Regions from separate parts of the Homo sapiens genome. Here regions 1, 2, 3 and 4 are each linked to region 5. Evidence: promoter capture Hi-C in 16 types of primary human blood cells and fetal thymus (Javierre and others, 2016). All regions are on one chromosome and are shown on one strand. Each heading gives the region's core, a stretch centred on a gene start or on the middle of the fragment in contact. The rest is flanking DNA. Distances are from core to core; before and after follow the strand shown. Region 1 overlaps IFFO1 (intermediate filament family orphan 1). Region 2 overlaps NCAPD2 (non-SMC condensin I complex subunit D2). Region 3 overlaps ATN1 (atrophin 1). Region 4 overlaps LRRC23 (leucine rich repeat containing 23). Region 5 holds the start of ZNF384 (zinc finger protein 384).

Region 1 (2,700 bases), core at 96-2,595, 150 kb before region 5:
TGACGCTGACTGGTTAGTGGAGCTCAGCCTGGAGCTGAGCTGCAGCGGGCAATTCCAGCTTGGCCTCCGCAGCTGTGAGGTCTTGAGCACGTGCTCTATTGCTTTCTGTGCCCTCGTGTCTTATCTGAGGACATCGTGGCCAGCCCCTAAGGTCTTCAAGCAGGATTCATCTAGGTAAACCAAGTACCTAAAACCATGCCCAAGGCGGTAAGGACTATATAATGTTTAAAAATCGGTAAAAATGCCCACCTCGCATAGTTTTGAGGAAGATGAACTGAGATGTGTCAGGGTGACTTATTTCCATCATCGTCCTTAGGGGAACTTGGGTAGGGGCAAGGCGTGTAGCTGGGACCTAGGTCCAGACCCCTGGCTCTGCCACTGAACGGCTCAGTTGCTTTGGGCAGTTACTCCCGGGCCTCACTTTGCACGTGTGCTTACCTAGTGGAGACAAAAGTACATACCTCGGTAGAGCGCGCACGCCTGTAACCCCAGCACTTTGGGAGGCCAAGGTGGGTGTATCACCTGAGGTCAGGAGTTTGAGACCAGCCTGGCCAACATGGTGAAACTCCGTCTCTACTAAAATTACAAAAATCAGCCAGGCTTCATGGCACATGCCTATAGTCCCAGCTACAGGCATGCTGAAGCAGGAGAATCGCTTGCACCCCGGAGGCAGAGGCTGCAGTGAGCTGAGACCACACCACTGCACTCCAGCCTAGGCAACAGAGTATGAGACTCCATCTCAAAAAAAAAAAAAGTACCTACCTCAGAGTTCAAACTAGTGAATATTAGGAAGTGCTTGAGACAGTGACACCAAAGTGCACAATAAATACTCGCCAGTTTCATTATTATTAAAGAATCCATTTGAATGTCAGCTCAACACAGCCTCCTATACCGAGGCATTGTGAACCGCATCTCCCCAGCTTCTCCAGGCTTTTCCAAGAATCAGGGACACTGTAGCCTGTTGGTCTCAGTGTATGACAGACACGGAGGAAGCACATCTTTAGCTGATACTTAAACAGAGACCCTGAGCGCACATACACCCGCGCACACATGCATGGAGCTTCACCTTCTCTGTCATTCTGCAGTGACCAGGAGAGCAAGAGCTCCCACCTCCCTTCAAAACACTGTGCCCATCCCGGGCACTAAGGCCTCTTTAAAGCACGGCACCTCCACGAGGGAGGGCCACAGCCACATACACTCCACCTGGCAGGTGGACAGCGTGAGCACGTGGACCATAGCAGGGACAAGGTGCCCCGGCCAGCCCCAACGCCCTCTGCCGCTGACAGGGACAGAAGCCCTCTCCAGCTGCGTGTGCTGCAGAGGCCATGCGTAGCCTCCAGCTGCATTCTATTCCACTCCAGTGCCTGGGCCAGTTAGCACCAGTGTGGAAGACAGTGAGCTGGCTCCGGACAACAGGGATGGAGGAAAGGTCCCACATTCACATTCCTGATACGTGGACAAGGTGAGGGGCCGCAATCGCTCTGGCAGCATTTTAAAGATGGGGAAGTAGCAGACACCCACGCGTGAAGGCAGGAGAGCCCCAACTGTGGTGGAAATGGCCCCAGAATGGTAGGGCCAAGCCTAGCTCCAGACACCCCAGAGCCCTGGAGAAGCCAAGACTGAGGGAGAAAGCCTGAGGGAGGAGCGCCCCAGTCCCCAGGGACCGGCCTGGTGCAGAGCTGCAGCTGATGTTCCCCTCTGTGCAGCCCCACCCTCTGCCTCGCTGAGCTCCCTGCTGCGAGGGCCTCGGGTGCAAGGGGGAGGCAGGTCTCTATCTCATGGAGCTGTCAGATGAGACATCGCGATCGGAGTCCTCAGCCTCGCTTGGCGGCGGCGGCGGGTCGCTAAGCGGGACCGCAGTGAAAGCAGGAGACTTTCTAGAAAAAAACACCAGTTGTCAACCTTGGGGCAGGCAGGAATCCTGAAGACGGACGGCACTCCTCCTCCTGCTGCCTCACCCTCTGGCAGCCCGTGAGAAGTACCGGAAGCGAGGGCGGGGCCGCGGGATGGCGAGGGAGCGGCAGGGACTGAACTCTCTCCAAACCCACCCTGACAGGGAAATGGGCCCCGCCTGTGTCTTGGGAACTCAGAGGCTGAGGTCAGGCATGATGGCTCACGCCTGTAATTCCAGCACTTTGGGAGGCAGAGGCGGGTGGATCACGACGTCAGGAGTTCAAGGCAAGCCTGGCCAACATGGTGAAACCCCATCTCTACTAAAAATGCAAAAATTAGCCAGGTGTGGTGGCGGGCGCCTTGGAGGCTGAGGCAAGATAATCACTTGAACCTGGGAGGCGGAGGTTGTAGTGAGCCAAAAAAAAAAAAAAAAGAAATAGCTGAAGTCACAGTAGGAGAGAAGCTGCTGAGCCTCCAGCACCCTGACTCTAGGGCCTTGGCTTTATGTCTATCTGCAGTATTTTTGTGATTTTTAAAAATTCACTTTCTTGTTGCGGTGTAACTTACACAGGGTCAAATGCACAAATCATGGCCCTGACTTTAGATAAAAATCTGCCCCCACAACCCTTCTGTTCCTTGCCAGTTTTTAAACTGCCTCTAACCAGGGGAACCACCAGAGCTGGTGGCCTTGGGAGGTTTCAGCCCTCCCGTCATGAATGGACATAGCTCATCCAACTGCCAAGGGAGAGAGCTGTGGGTCTGGGCCAGCCCCACCAGGTAACTCCCAAAGGGCAGCCCCACAGCAAG
Region 2 (2,700 bases), core at 186-2,685, 190 kb before region 5:
TACTAATGGGTGAGTAGGGTTGCATATACAGTGTGGATATGTTGGACAAAGGGATGGTTCACATCCCAGGCAGGAGGCGGCAGGGCAGCACCAGATTTTATGCTACTCAGAATGACACACAACCTACAATTTATGAATTGTGTATCTCTGGAATATTTCTTTCTTTCTTTCTTTTTATTTTTTTAAGATAAGGGTCTTGCTTTGTTGACCAGGCTGGAGTGCAGTGGCTCAATCTCAGCCCACTGCAACCTTCACCTCCTGGGCTCAAGCAATTCTCCTGCCTCAGTTTCCCAAGCAGCTGGGACTACAGGTAAGTGCCACCACGCCTGGCTAATTCTTGGGGGGTTTTTTTGTTGTTCTGGAGACGGAGTTTTGCTCTGTCGCCCAGGTTGGAGTGCAGTGGCAAGGTATCGGCTCACTGCACCCTCCACCTCACAGGTTCAAGCAATTCTCCTGCTTCAGCCTCCCAAGTGGCTGGAATTACAGGTGCCCACCACCACATCCAGCTAATTTTTTTTGTATTTTTTAGTAGAGCTGGGGTTTCACCATGTTGGCCAGGCTGGTCTCGAACTCCTGACCTCAGGTGATCTGCCCAACTTGGCCTCCCAAAGTTCTGGGATTATAGGCGTGAGCTACTGTGCCCAGCCTATTTCTGGAATATTTCATTTAATATTTTCAGACTTGAGATTGACCACGGGTAACTGAAACCCCAGAAAGTGAGAACACAGATTGGTGAGGACCACTGTGTGTAAGATGGTTGTAAGAGCCAAAGAGAAAAATAAAGAAGACAGTGTGGCCAGGCGCAGTGGCTCACACCTGTAATCCTAGCACTTTGGGAAGCCAAGGTGGTTGGATTGCTCAAGCTCAGGGGTTTGAGACCAGCCTGGCCAACATGGTGAAACCCCATCTCTACCAAAATTACAAAAAAGTTAGCCAGGCGTGGTGGTGCACACCTGTAGTTCCAGCTACTTGGGAGGCTGGGGTGGGAGAATTGCTTGAGCCCAGGAGGCAGGGGCTGCAGTGAGCCATGATCATGCCACTGCACTGCAACCTGGCCACAGAGCTAGACCCTGTTTCAAAAAAGAAAAAAAAAGAAGTGTACTGGGAATGGTGGCTTGTCCCTGTAATCCCAACCACTTGGGAGGCAGAAGCAGGATTGTTAAGGCCAGGAGTTCAAGACCAGCTTGGGCAACATAGTCTCTAAAATTAATTATACAAAGCTTAAAAATAAATAATATAAAGAAGAAGATAGTAGGACCTGTCATTTCATGTTGGATCATCAGAGAAGGCTTGCTGTTACGTCACGTTTGAGCAGAGACCTTAAGAAAGTAAGGAAATAAACTATGCAGATTGTTAGGGAAGAGCATTCCAAGCAAACAGAAAAGCCTATGCAAAGGCCTTGAGGTGGGCAAATGCCAATAGAGTTGGAGTGCATTAAGCTAGGAAAAAGAGATTAGGTAGGAAGTGGTACAGATTATTCTAGAATCTTGCTCCTCAAAATGTGGTCCTCAGATCAGCAGTGTTAATATCAGGATCTCATGATCTGGGAGCTTATTAGAAATGCAGGATGTCAAGGCCCAGGATGTCAAAGCTGCTGAATCAGGAAATCTGTATTTTAAGAAGATTCCCCCAGGCAATTTGGATGCAATTATAAGCTTGAGAAGCACTGATCTCTAGAGCCTCGTAGATCATGGCAAAAACTTGAACTTCAGTGTGAATGAACTTGAAAGCCATTGGGTTTTGAGCATGGGAGTGACATGGTCTGACATTTTAAAAGATTCACTGGCGACTGTGTTGAGCAGAGACTATAAGAGGCAAGGAGAGAAGCAGGGATACTAGTTAAGTGGCTAATACAGTAATACCAAGTAGATTGGACTGGAGGGATAGCAGGGGAAGTGGTGATAAAACGACTCAGGATATATTTTCAAAGTAGAGCTTTTACAGGAATGCTGATGGATTGGATTGGATTATAGGGTTAGTAAAGGAATCTGAGATGAGAATGATTACAAGGCTTTTTTTTTTTTTTTTTGACAGTCTTGCTCTGTTGGCTCTGTCACCCAGGTTGGCGTGCAGTGGCGTGATCTTGGCTCGCTGCAACCTCTGCCTCCCAGGTTCAAGCAATTCTCATGCCTCAGCCACCTGAGTATCTAGGATTACAGGTGTGCACCACCACGCCTGGCTAATTTTTTTTTTTTTTTTTTTTTTTTTTTTTTTTAGGCAGAGTCTCGCTCTCTCGCCCAGGCTGGAGTGCAGTGGCACCATCTCGGTTCACTGCAAGCTCCGCCTCCCAGGGTCACGACACCTGGCTAATTTTTGTATTTTTAGTAGAGATGCGGTTTTGCCGTGTTGTCCAGTCTGGTCTTGAACTTCTGGCCTCAAGTGATCTGCCTGCCTCGGCCTCCCAAAATGTTGGGATTACAGGCGTGGGCCACCACACCCGGCCTTACAAGGCTTTTTGACTTGAGCAACTAGAAGAATGAAGTTGCCATTTACTGAGATGGGGTAGCATATGGGAGGGAGAGGTTTAGATTGTTGGTTATGTGAGTGCAGAGTTCAAGGGAGAGGTTGTCAGCTAAAGATACACATTTAGGATTTAATACTCAGCGTGTAGACAGCACTTAAAGCCATGAGATTGCAGTGAGTGTAGATGGAGAAGAGCAGCAGTTTGAAGACCAAGACCTGAGACAGTCCAGCATTTAG
Region 3 (2,700 bases), core at 143-2,642, 240 kb after region 5:
GTTAGTCTGGCAGGTCCAGAATGATGTTGGGGGCTGGGCCAATGATCCTGAAATTTAGCCTGCGAGCCCCTCCCAGAGAGCTTGTGACTCCACTGTATTCCTTCTGACATCCCATATTTCTCTCTTAATTTCTTTTCCTGTTCTTACTTAGGGGCTCTTTTTCTAGTTCTCACTTTCCTCCCAACCCAGTCTGGTCTTAATCATTTTCTTTTTAAAGTAAGGTAATGGCAGTGCGCAGTGGCTCACGCCTGTAATCCCAGCACTTTGGGAGGCTGAGGCGGGCGGATCACGAGGTCAGGCGATTGAGACCATCCTGGCTAACACGGTGAAACCCCGTCTCTAGTAAAAATACAAAAAAATTAGCCGGGCGTGGTGGCGGGCGCCTGTAGTCCCAGCTACTCAGGAGGCTGAGGCAGGAGAATGGCGTGAACCCGGGAGGTGGAGCTTGCAGTGAGCCGAGCCGAGATCGCGGCACGGCACTCCAGCCTGGGTGACAGAGTGAGACTCCGTCTCAATAAATAAATAAATAAATAAATAAATAAAATAAAGCAAGGTAATGAAGGTGAATGTGCTTAGTATGTGGCCAGATACAGAGTAGGTGCTCTGTAATATTAGTTACAGTGATTGCCTGCTAGGAGTGTAGGCTGGTGCTAAAACATGACCCAGGTCTAGAAAGACACACAATCCACCCCTAACTCCTTTCCTCGTCTGCCACTCCTTATCCCCAGGATTACTTGTTCTTTTATGACTGCTTTTCTCCTTCAAAGCTTCTCATTGCTAGTTTTTATCAGATTTCAGGTGATTAAAAAAGAAGGGCATACTATGATTGCTGTGTTCCTCAGGTACATTCCTGTGTTTCTCTGACCTTTTGGATCCCCTAACCTAACTGACTTGGTGAACAGGTTCTGTGATGGGGAAGGGAGATGGACACCCTTCTCTAGGAGGGCTGGCAAAAATACACCAATCACAAATAGTCATCTTTGTTGTGCTTTTTGTTTAAGATTGTTTTCCTCTTTTGCTATGGTGGGTGTTGTTCTTCGGATTTTTTTTTTTTTTTGGTTGATAGTATTTTAAAACCAGTCTACATAACAACTAAAAAATGTGGGAAAATAGCTGTAGTTGAAAAAAAAAAAAAAAAAAAAAAGGCCGGGCATGGTGGCTCACGCCTGTAATCCCAACACTTTAGGAGGCTGAGGCAGGTGGATCATCTGAGGTCAGGAGTTCGAGACCAGCCTGGTCAACATGGTGAAACTCCGTCTCTACTAAAAATACAAAAATTAGCCAGGTGTGGTGGTGTGCGCTTGTAATCCCAGCTACTTGGGAGGCTGAGGCAGGAGAATCGCTTGAACCTGGGAGGCGGAGGTGGCAGTGAGCTGAGATCATGCCATAGCACCTCCAGCCTGGGGAACAAGAGCAAAGATCCATCTCAAAAAAAAAAAAAAGGAAAAAAAAAGAAAACTAGTTGGCCGGGCACAGTGGCTCACGCCTGTAATCCCAGCACTTGGGAAGGCCGAGGCAGGCAGATCACCTGAGGTCAGTAGTTCGAGACCACCCTGACTAACATGGTGAAACCCTGTCTCTACTAAAAATACAAAAAATTAGCCGGGTGTGGTGGTGCATGCCTGTAATCCCAGCTATTCAGGAGGCTGAGGCAGGAGAATCGCTTGAACCTGGGAGGCAGAGGTTGCAGTGAGTGAGATCACGCCACTGCACTCCAGCCTGGGCAACAAGAGTGAAACTCTGTCTCAAAAAAAAAAAAAAAAAAAAAAAAAAAGACAAGTCTACTGGGCAGAGCATCAGTTGAAAGTTCAGAAGATAGGCTCTGTCCCAGCAATTTTGTGATTCTAAGTAAATTGTGAAGTTTCCTGGAAAGGTTAGACTCACCCCTTACTGCCTGCATCAGTATGGTTCCGTGGAGGTGAGTGAGAATTACTGTGTTTCTTGGGAAAAAATACACTACAGAATATGGACATGCCGTTTACCTAGCAGGCCTCCAACTCAGAATAGAATACATGGGTAAGCTTAGTCTGTTCCCACTGGAGCTAGCAGCACTTAATTCAGGAAGAAAGACCTACTGATGTTAGTGGGTTTAAAGGTCAATCACAAGAAGAGCGCACACACATCAGTGGAAAGGAAGAAAACAGTAAGAAAATACCATTTTTGCTCTCAAAAGATCTTACAATCAGTAATTTGGAGGGACTTGACACTTAGCAAGAAATACAAACAAGTGCAAATGAATACAGCTGGCTATAGGGATTTGGATAAAGATAGATACCTGCTGATAGACAGATACGGATGGATTGGCTGTGAGAAACTGTGTAACCCAGTCTACACCAAGTAGGAGGATAGGCTTAAAAACTGGTACATCTGTGTTGTTTGCTCACGGATATTTTGAGTCTTTAATCATTCATGTGAAAACCCTGACTTTTCCTCTAGCCTTAGGGAGCTCAAGTACTAGAGAATGGGTCCTTTATGGGGCTCTCAAAAATGAAGTTCTACAATTTGGGGCTACCTAGGTTTAGTCTTGGGATTGGTAGGGCTGTGTTCCTTTGTATTATAGAATGGGACATTCTTCTTCTACCTACTCTGATGTGAGAAAAGATTCTTTTCATATCTCTGTGACTGATCTAGGCCTTCTGAGAATTCTCCCCAGCAACTTCTGAGGAGAATACAGCAAAGTATAGAAGAAAGAGCATGGGC
Region 4 (2,700 bases), core at 52-2,551, 220 kb after region 5:
ATAATATATATAATATATAAATATATATAATAGTATATTATATATAATATATTTTATATAATATATAAATATTATATATAATAGTATATTATATATAATATATAAATATTATATATAATAGTATATAATATATAATATATAATATATATTTTATATATTATATAATATATTATATATTATATATATAATAACTCCACAGGAAGCCACTGAAATATTTAGTCTTTTAGACTCTTAAGCTTCGTTATTCTGGGATGGTGCTGATGCCAATCCTCAGTGGTGGCCTGGGGGCTCCTGGGCCGGGTAGGGGTGGGTTGAAGCATCTCCTCCATCCCAAGTGGCTTTGATGGGGCGAATGGTAGAGGGTTACTGCTGACCTTTCTCTGGGATGGCAGCTTCTCCTGAACTTCTTTACTTTCTATACTGATCTCTACTCACCCCCACTCCTTTCTTCCACTCCTCCCTCTCTACCTCTTGGATTTCCTCTTTTGCTTTATCTCATTCTGACTTCTCTTTCTTCCCTATCCCTGCTCCCTCTCAATCAATCCACTGTGCCCTGGGGGTCTAGGCCCAAAACATGCTGAAGAAGGTGGAAGGCTTGGAGGATCTGAGCAATCTCACCACCTTGCATCTTCGAGACAACCAGATTGACACCCTGAGTGGCTTCTCCAGAGAAATGAAATCATTGCAGTACCTCAACCTGAGGTATGCACCCTCTCCAAGCCCCACCTTGCCCCTACCCCTGACCAGGTGCAGCTTTTGAGTCTGTGTTCTTCCCTGGCCCAATCCCCCAGTCCTAGCCCACAGCTGGATTCTCAAGGAAAGCCCGGCTTTCCTTCCTTTCTTCTGCACTGAGTTGCAACACTAAATCCCTTATAGCTTGTGACCCCTGAATTTTTATTCATTCAATCCACAATTATTGAGAATGTGCTATGTGCCAGGCCTTGTGCTGTGTTTTGGGGACATTTAAAGCAATCAGAGGCTGGGCATGGTGGTTCATGCCTGTACTCCCAGCACTTTAGGAGGAAGGATCACTTGAGGCCAGGAGTTCAGGACCAGCCTGGGCAACCTAGTGAGACCATGTTTCTACAGAAGTGAAAATAATGGCCCGGCATGGTGGCTCACACCTGTAGTTCTAGCACTTTGGGAAGCCGAAGTGGGCAGATCGTTGGAGCCTAGGAGTTCAAGACCAGTCTGGGCAACATGGCAAAATCCCATCTCTACCAAAAATACAAAAATTAGCCAGGCATGGTGACAGGCACCTGTAATCCCAGCTACTCAGGAGACTTAGGCGGGAGGATCGCTGGAGCCTCGAGGTGGAGTTTGCAGTGAGCTGAGATAAAGCCGCTGCACTCCAGCCTGGGTGACAGAGCCAGACCCTGCCTCAAAAACAAAACAAAAATAAAATATTAAATAAAAATTAAAATATTAAATTAAAAATAAAAATTAACTGAGCCTGGTGGTGCACACCTGTGGTTTCAGCTACTCAGGAGGCTGAGGTTGGAGGATCACTTGAGCCCAGGAGTTCAAGGTTGCAGTGAGCCATGATTGTGCCACTGCACTCCAGCCTGGGTGACAGAGTGAGCTGTCTCTAAAAGAAAGAAAGGAATCAGAGGTGATTCCTGTTCCTAAGGGGCTCACAGTCTGGCTCCAACTCTTTTTTCCTCACCCTATCCTATATAAGTTTCCACTGCCCTTCTCCATTTCCTCGGTCCCAATTCACCTTCCCATTTCCTGCCTCTCTTCTCCTGAGCCCCACCTGTAAGGGATGACCTTTTTACTGATTAAAAAAACACAAGATGTGCTCAGATTTGAGGAGAGAAGGACATTTGTAAGAAAATCTTTTGGTAGAAAGGCACTGAAGATCAGCAACTCTTGTCGGATGGAGGACTTTATGTGTGTTTATTTCAGCAAACATGTAAGGAAACTGCCTCTTTCCTTAGTCAACAAGACCAGATTCTTGAGCTGGTAATGGAAAGAGCATCTCCAAGTAGGGAGAGGTGGTTGCATCTGGAAGCCCCAACTCTCATCCTGACCCCCTGGGCATTCTCTTATTCATGAACTCTGCCACACGGATCTGGTGGGGTGTGTATCTGTGCCATCTTCCTGTTAATGATCTAGACAGGCATGATGGACCCTTCCTGAGTGGCTATTAAATGGGGATGTTTTGAGAGTAAGTCGGGTGTGTGTGTGGAGGGGGGTGAGGGTGTCTCAATGATTGGCAGGTGCCTCTGGGGCCAGAGATGCTAAGCATCCAACAATGTATGGCAGAGTCCAGTACAAAGTTCCTGTAGCCCTCCTGGTGAGAAACACTGCATGAGGCTCAGCACGACCATGAGATCAGGCTGAAACACTTAAATAGATTTCATAAAAGCTTAAAGCCAGAACATGAAAATAAATAAAATTCCAGGCATGGTGGCTCACGCCTGTAATCCCAGCACTTTGGGGGGGCCAAGGCAAGAGGACTGCTTGAGGCCAGGCGTTCAAGACAAACCTGGGCAACATAGTGAGACCCAGTCTCTACAAAAAATTTAAACATTAGCCAGGTGTGGTGGCACATGCCTGGAGGTACTTAGGAAGCTAAGGTGAGAGGATCACTTGAGCCCAGGAATTCAAGGCTGCAGTGAGCTATGATCATGCCACTGCACCCCCAACCGGGGTGACATAGTGAGACCCTGTCTCAATAAAAATAAAATAAAAACA
Region 5 (2,700 bases), core at 67-2,566:
TATTACTTTAAGTATTCTATCACATTGTGAAACACACACACGCCCCATTTGGTTGTGACCCCTTCTCCCCCAAAACCAGAAAAGCCATTAACCCAAAAATCATCTTACCCTCTCTCTCTCTTCCTCCTGCCGTCTTATTCCTTCTCCTTTCCAGGGCTCCTGAACTTTCTGTAAACAAATTGTCTAGGTTACAGGGGCCAGGCAGGGTGCAGCCACCAGAGAACTGTGGAGAACCTCAGGAATTATTTGTCAGCAGTCAGTCTGGAAGGCAGGCAGACCCCCCAGCCAGCAATCCAAAGACGGGTGGATATAATAACAGCAGTCTAGTGCTACCCTCTACGTGGATACAAGAGAAATAAATCCAATTCCCAGAAACTAAGACGAATTCTATCACCAGCGTTTGGGTTTCACTCCTAGGCTCAGAGACTGGTCCTTGTTCGTTCCCAGGCCACAGGTAACCAGGGGTCAGAGAACATTAGAGATGGAGGAGGAGGAGGGTCTGTGCCCCTGAGGAGTGGCTTCAGAAGGCAAAGCTGAGGGCTGGGGGATGCACAAGACCTTGTGGCAGGCACAGTGCCAGTTCAGGCCCAGCCACTTCCTCTAGCCTTCCCCCCACTTCTTCGAGGACTTCGCCCCCTGCCTACCCGAGGCCTTGTGCCAAGAAGTACCTCCCTCAGCCTGCACCGTGGTCTATCTACTGGAGACCCCAGCTGTCCCCTCAAAACCTTCGCTCCCCTGAGACAGTTCCTGGGAGCCTTCTCCTGATGTCGTCCCCTACCCCTTTCTCAAAGACCCTTCCTTGGGACGTCCCTCCTTCCCCTCCAGGGAGCTGAACTCTGCCACCCACCAGACAGGCACCCGCCCCCTAAACCCCCCCATTCCTTCCCATCGCCCGCTCCTCCACAACCACTTCCGGTTCCGGGACGGACACACACACAGTCACATCGTGGACCCCCCCTTCCCCGCCTGCCCAAGGAAAAGGGGAGGGGGGAGGAGCAAGCAGCTTGGCGCGCGCCGGCTGTAGCGGCGCGAGACTCACCGGGCGGCGACGGCTGCGGCGGCGCCAGAGCCTGAGCCAGGGCGCGGGAGGGGCGGCGTTTGCTGGGAAAGGAGGGAGCCGAGGAGGGTGGGAGGACCAGGAAGGGGCGAGGGAGGGGAAAAAGCGCAAGGCGCAGCGCGCGGGCACGCACTTCTGGAGCGAGACAGACCCACACACTCACACGCACGGAACGCGCGCGAGACACCCGCAGGGCGGGGGCGCGAGGTAGTGGGTGGCCCCCCCTCCTTGCTGCCCTCCCCTTGCACTCACCCGGAAGTGGTGCTGCAGCTCGTGCTCCCGCGAACCCCAGTTCCTCCACGCCCCCCTCCCTCCCCCCAACAGGCTCAGAGAAGAGCTCTGCGGAGAGAAGGCGGGAGCGCCGGAAACGAAAAGGGGGGAGGGAGGGAAATAGCAATGTAGGGGGGGCGCTAATGGAGAAAGAGGGGCGTGCAGAAGCCGAGTCACTTCCGGGAGTGGCTGGAACACTTCCGGCGCCGCTAGCGCTGCGAGATATTCAGGGCAGAAGTTACGATAACTCGGGGCGGAAATAGCTTCTGCCCAGCGACTGGGAAGAGGGGATGTGACGCTATAGCGGAAGTGAAGGCGGGTTCCGCTAGGGGCAAAAGCTGAAACCGGAGGACTCCGGCCCTGAGCTTCCGGAAGGGACATCTGGGGAAGGTGGGGGGGTGGAAACGCGACAGGTTCATGAATTATCCATCAAGGTAGGAGAGGAGGTGTGGGTTCTTCAGATGCTGGGACCCCGTTTCTCTTCCCTCTGGATGTTGAATAAGCTGATGTAGGAAATTACCATTATTTTTTCTGATACCCCCAAGAATGTCTCAATGCTTTGAATATGCGGGAAAGGACTAGGACGTATCCTTGTTTTTCGGAGGTCCCTACTTAGGTCCAGTTAGAAACTCTCCCAGCCATCAAAATCTGTCTCTCTGACACATCCCTTACTTTACTTTGGTCTTTTCTTGTTGCCCATACCCACATCTCTATCCCCTTACCCTGTTTTACTTAAATATAGCACTTATTACTGCCTGATTTATTGTTTGCTGTCCACCTCTCCCAACTAAAATATTGGCTACAGGACAGCGAGGACTGAATTGTTCGTTGCTGTATCCTCATATCCTGGCAGTTAAGTGGTCTGTAAACTCTTGTTGTATAAATGAACTATAGTTCATTATGAACACCTAAATATGAACCCTTTTAGGAAGCCTTGCCTGATTGCTCCAACCTGTAATGGTCCCTCTGAATTCCCATAGTATTTAATACGTACCTTTTATTGATATTTTAACTATTTCATACATGTGATTCCCCAGCAAGATTGTCAGTTCCTCATGGAAGGAAATACGTTGCTTTGCTGAGCATATAGTAAATGCTGAATATGTTGTTTGAACAAGTGAATGCTGTTACAAGCGTGCACCCCGACCTGGCCAGAATCCCCCTGGGCTCAGCTCTAAGCAGAACTGAGGTCTCTCCTACTAATGGTAAGAGCCTCTTGCTGAGAAAAATAACCTTTTTTTTTTTTTTTTAAAGACAGAGTGTCACCCTGTTGCCCAGGCTGGAGTGCATTGGCGCCATCTTGGCTCACTGCAACCTCTGCCTCCTGGGTTCAAGCGATTCTCCTGCCTCAGCCTCCCTAGCAGCTGGGATGA

Evidence for each region. The method cuts DNA at HindIII sites, captures the fragments that hold promoters and counts their contacts. A CHiCAGO score of 5 or more calls a contact.
Region 1: a contact is called between a fragment that was not itself captured here and the fragment with the promoter of ZNF384 in region 5, in 4 of 17 cell types (naive B cells, non-activated CD4 T cells, erythroblasts and 1 more). The highest score is 7.9, in naive B cells.
Region 2: a fragment that was not itself captured here is called in contact with the fragment with the promoter of ZNF384 in region 5 in 5 of 17 cell types (total B cells, naive CD4 T cells, non-activated CD4 T cells and 2 more); the score reaches 6.6 in total B cells.
Region 3: a fragment that was not itself captured here is called in contact with the fragment with the promoter of ZNF384 in region 5 in 3 of 17 cell types (non-activated CD4 T cells, activated CD4 T cells and naive CD4 T cells); the score reaches 9.6 in non-activated CD4 T cells.
Region 4: a contact is called between a fragment that was not itself captured here and the fragment with the promoter of ZNF384 in region 5, in 4 of 17 cell types (activated CD4 T cells, naive CD4 T cells, non-activated CD4 T cells and 1 more). The highest score is 8.6, in activated CD4 T cells.

Annotation. Positions count from the first base shown.
Region 1 is chr12:6,538,712-6,541,411 of GRCh38, forward strand. It overlaps IFFO1 (intermediate filament family orphan 1), which reads right to left. Exons shown (of 10, transcript NM_001193457.2): 10 at 828-1,877. The coding sequence ends at 1,772. Among named protein-coding and RNA genes, the nearest start is that of GAPDH, 5.5 kb to the left of the region's middle. RefSeq lists enhancers at 859-1,068, 1,849-1,998, 2,029-2,168. The HindIII fragment of the contact is 6,612 bases long and covers 1-2,700 here.
Region 2 is chr12:6,499,045-6,501,744 of GRCh38, forward strand. The region is part of intron 2 of NCAPD2 (non-SMC condensin I complex subunit D2); the gene reads left to right. Among named protein-coding and RNA genes, the nearest start is that of NCAPD2, 6.3 kb to the left of the region's middle. The HindIII fragment of the contact is 435 bases long and covers 1,219-1,653 here.
Region 3 is chr12:6,930,288-6,932,987 of GRCh38, forward strand. All of the region lies in intron 1 of ATN1 (atrophin 1), which reads left to right. Among named protein-coding and RNA genes, the nearest start is that of ATN1, 3.7 kb to the left of the region's middle. The HindIII fragment of the contact is 1,254 bases long and covers 766-2,019 here.
Region 4 is chr12:6,909,325-6,912,024 of GRCh38, forward strand. It overlaps LRRC23 (leucine rich repeat containing 23), which reads left to right. Exons shown (of 8, transcript NM_001135217.2): 6 at 566-702. Among named protein-coding and RNA genes, the nearest start is that of ENO2, 3.9 kb to the right of the region's middle. The HindIII fragment of the contact is 2,135 bases long and covers 235-2,369 here.
Region 5 is chr12:6,688,059-6,690,758 of GRCh38, forward strand. It overlaps ZNF384 (zinc finger protein 384), which reads right to left and starts at 1,317. Exons shown (of 12, transcript NM_001385745.1): 1 at 1,040-1,317; 2 at 109-168. RefSeq lists silencers at 1,166-1,275, 1,356-1,435 and an enhancer at 1,169-1,795. The HindIII fragment of the contact is 17,984 bases long and covers 1-2,700 here.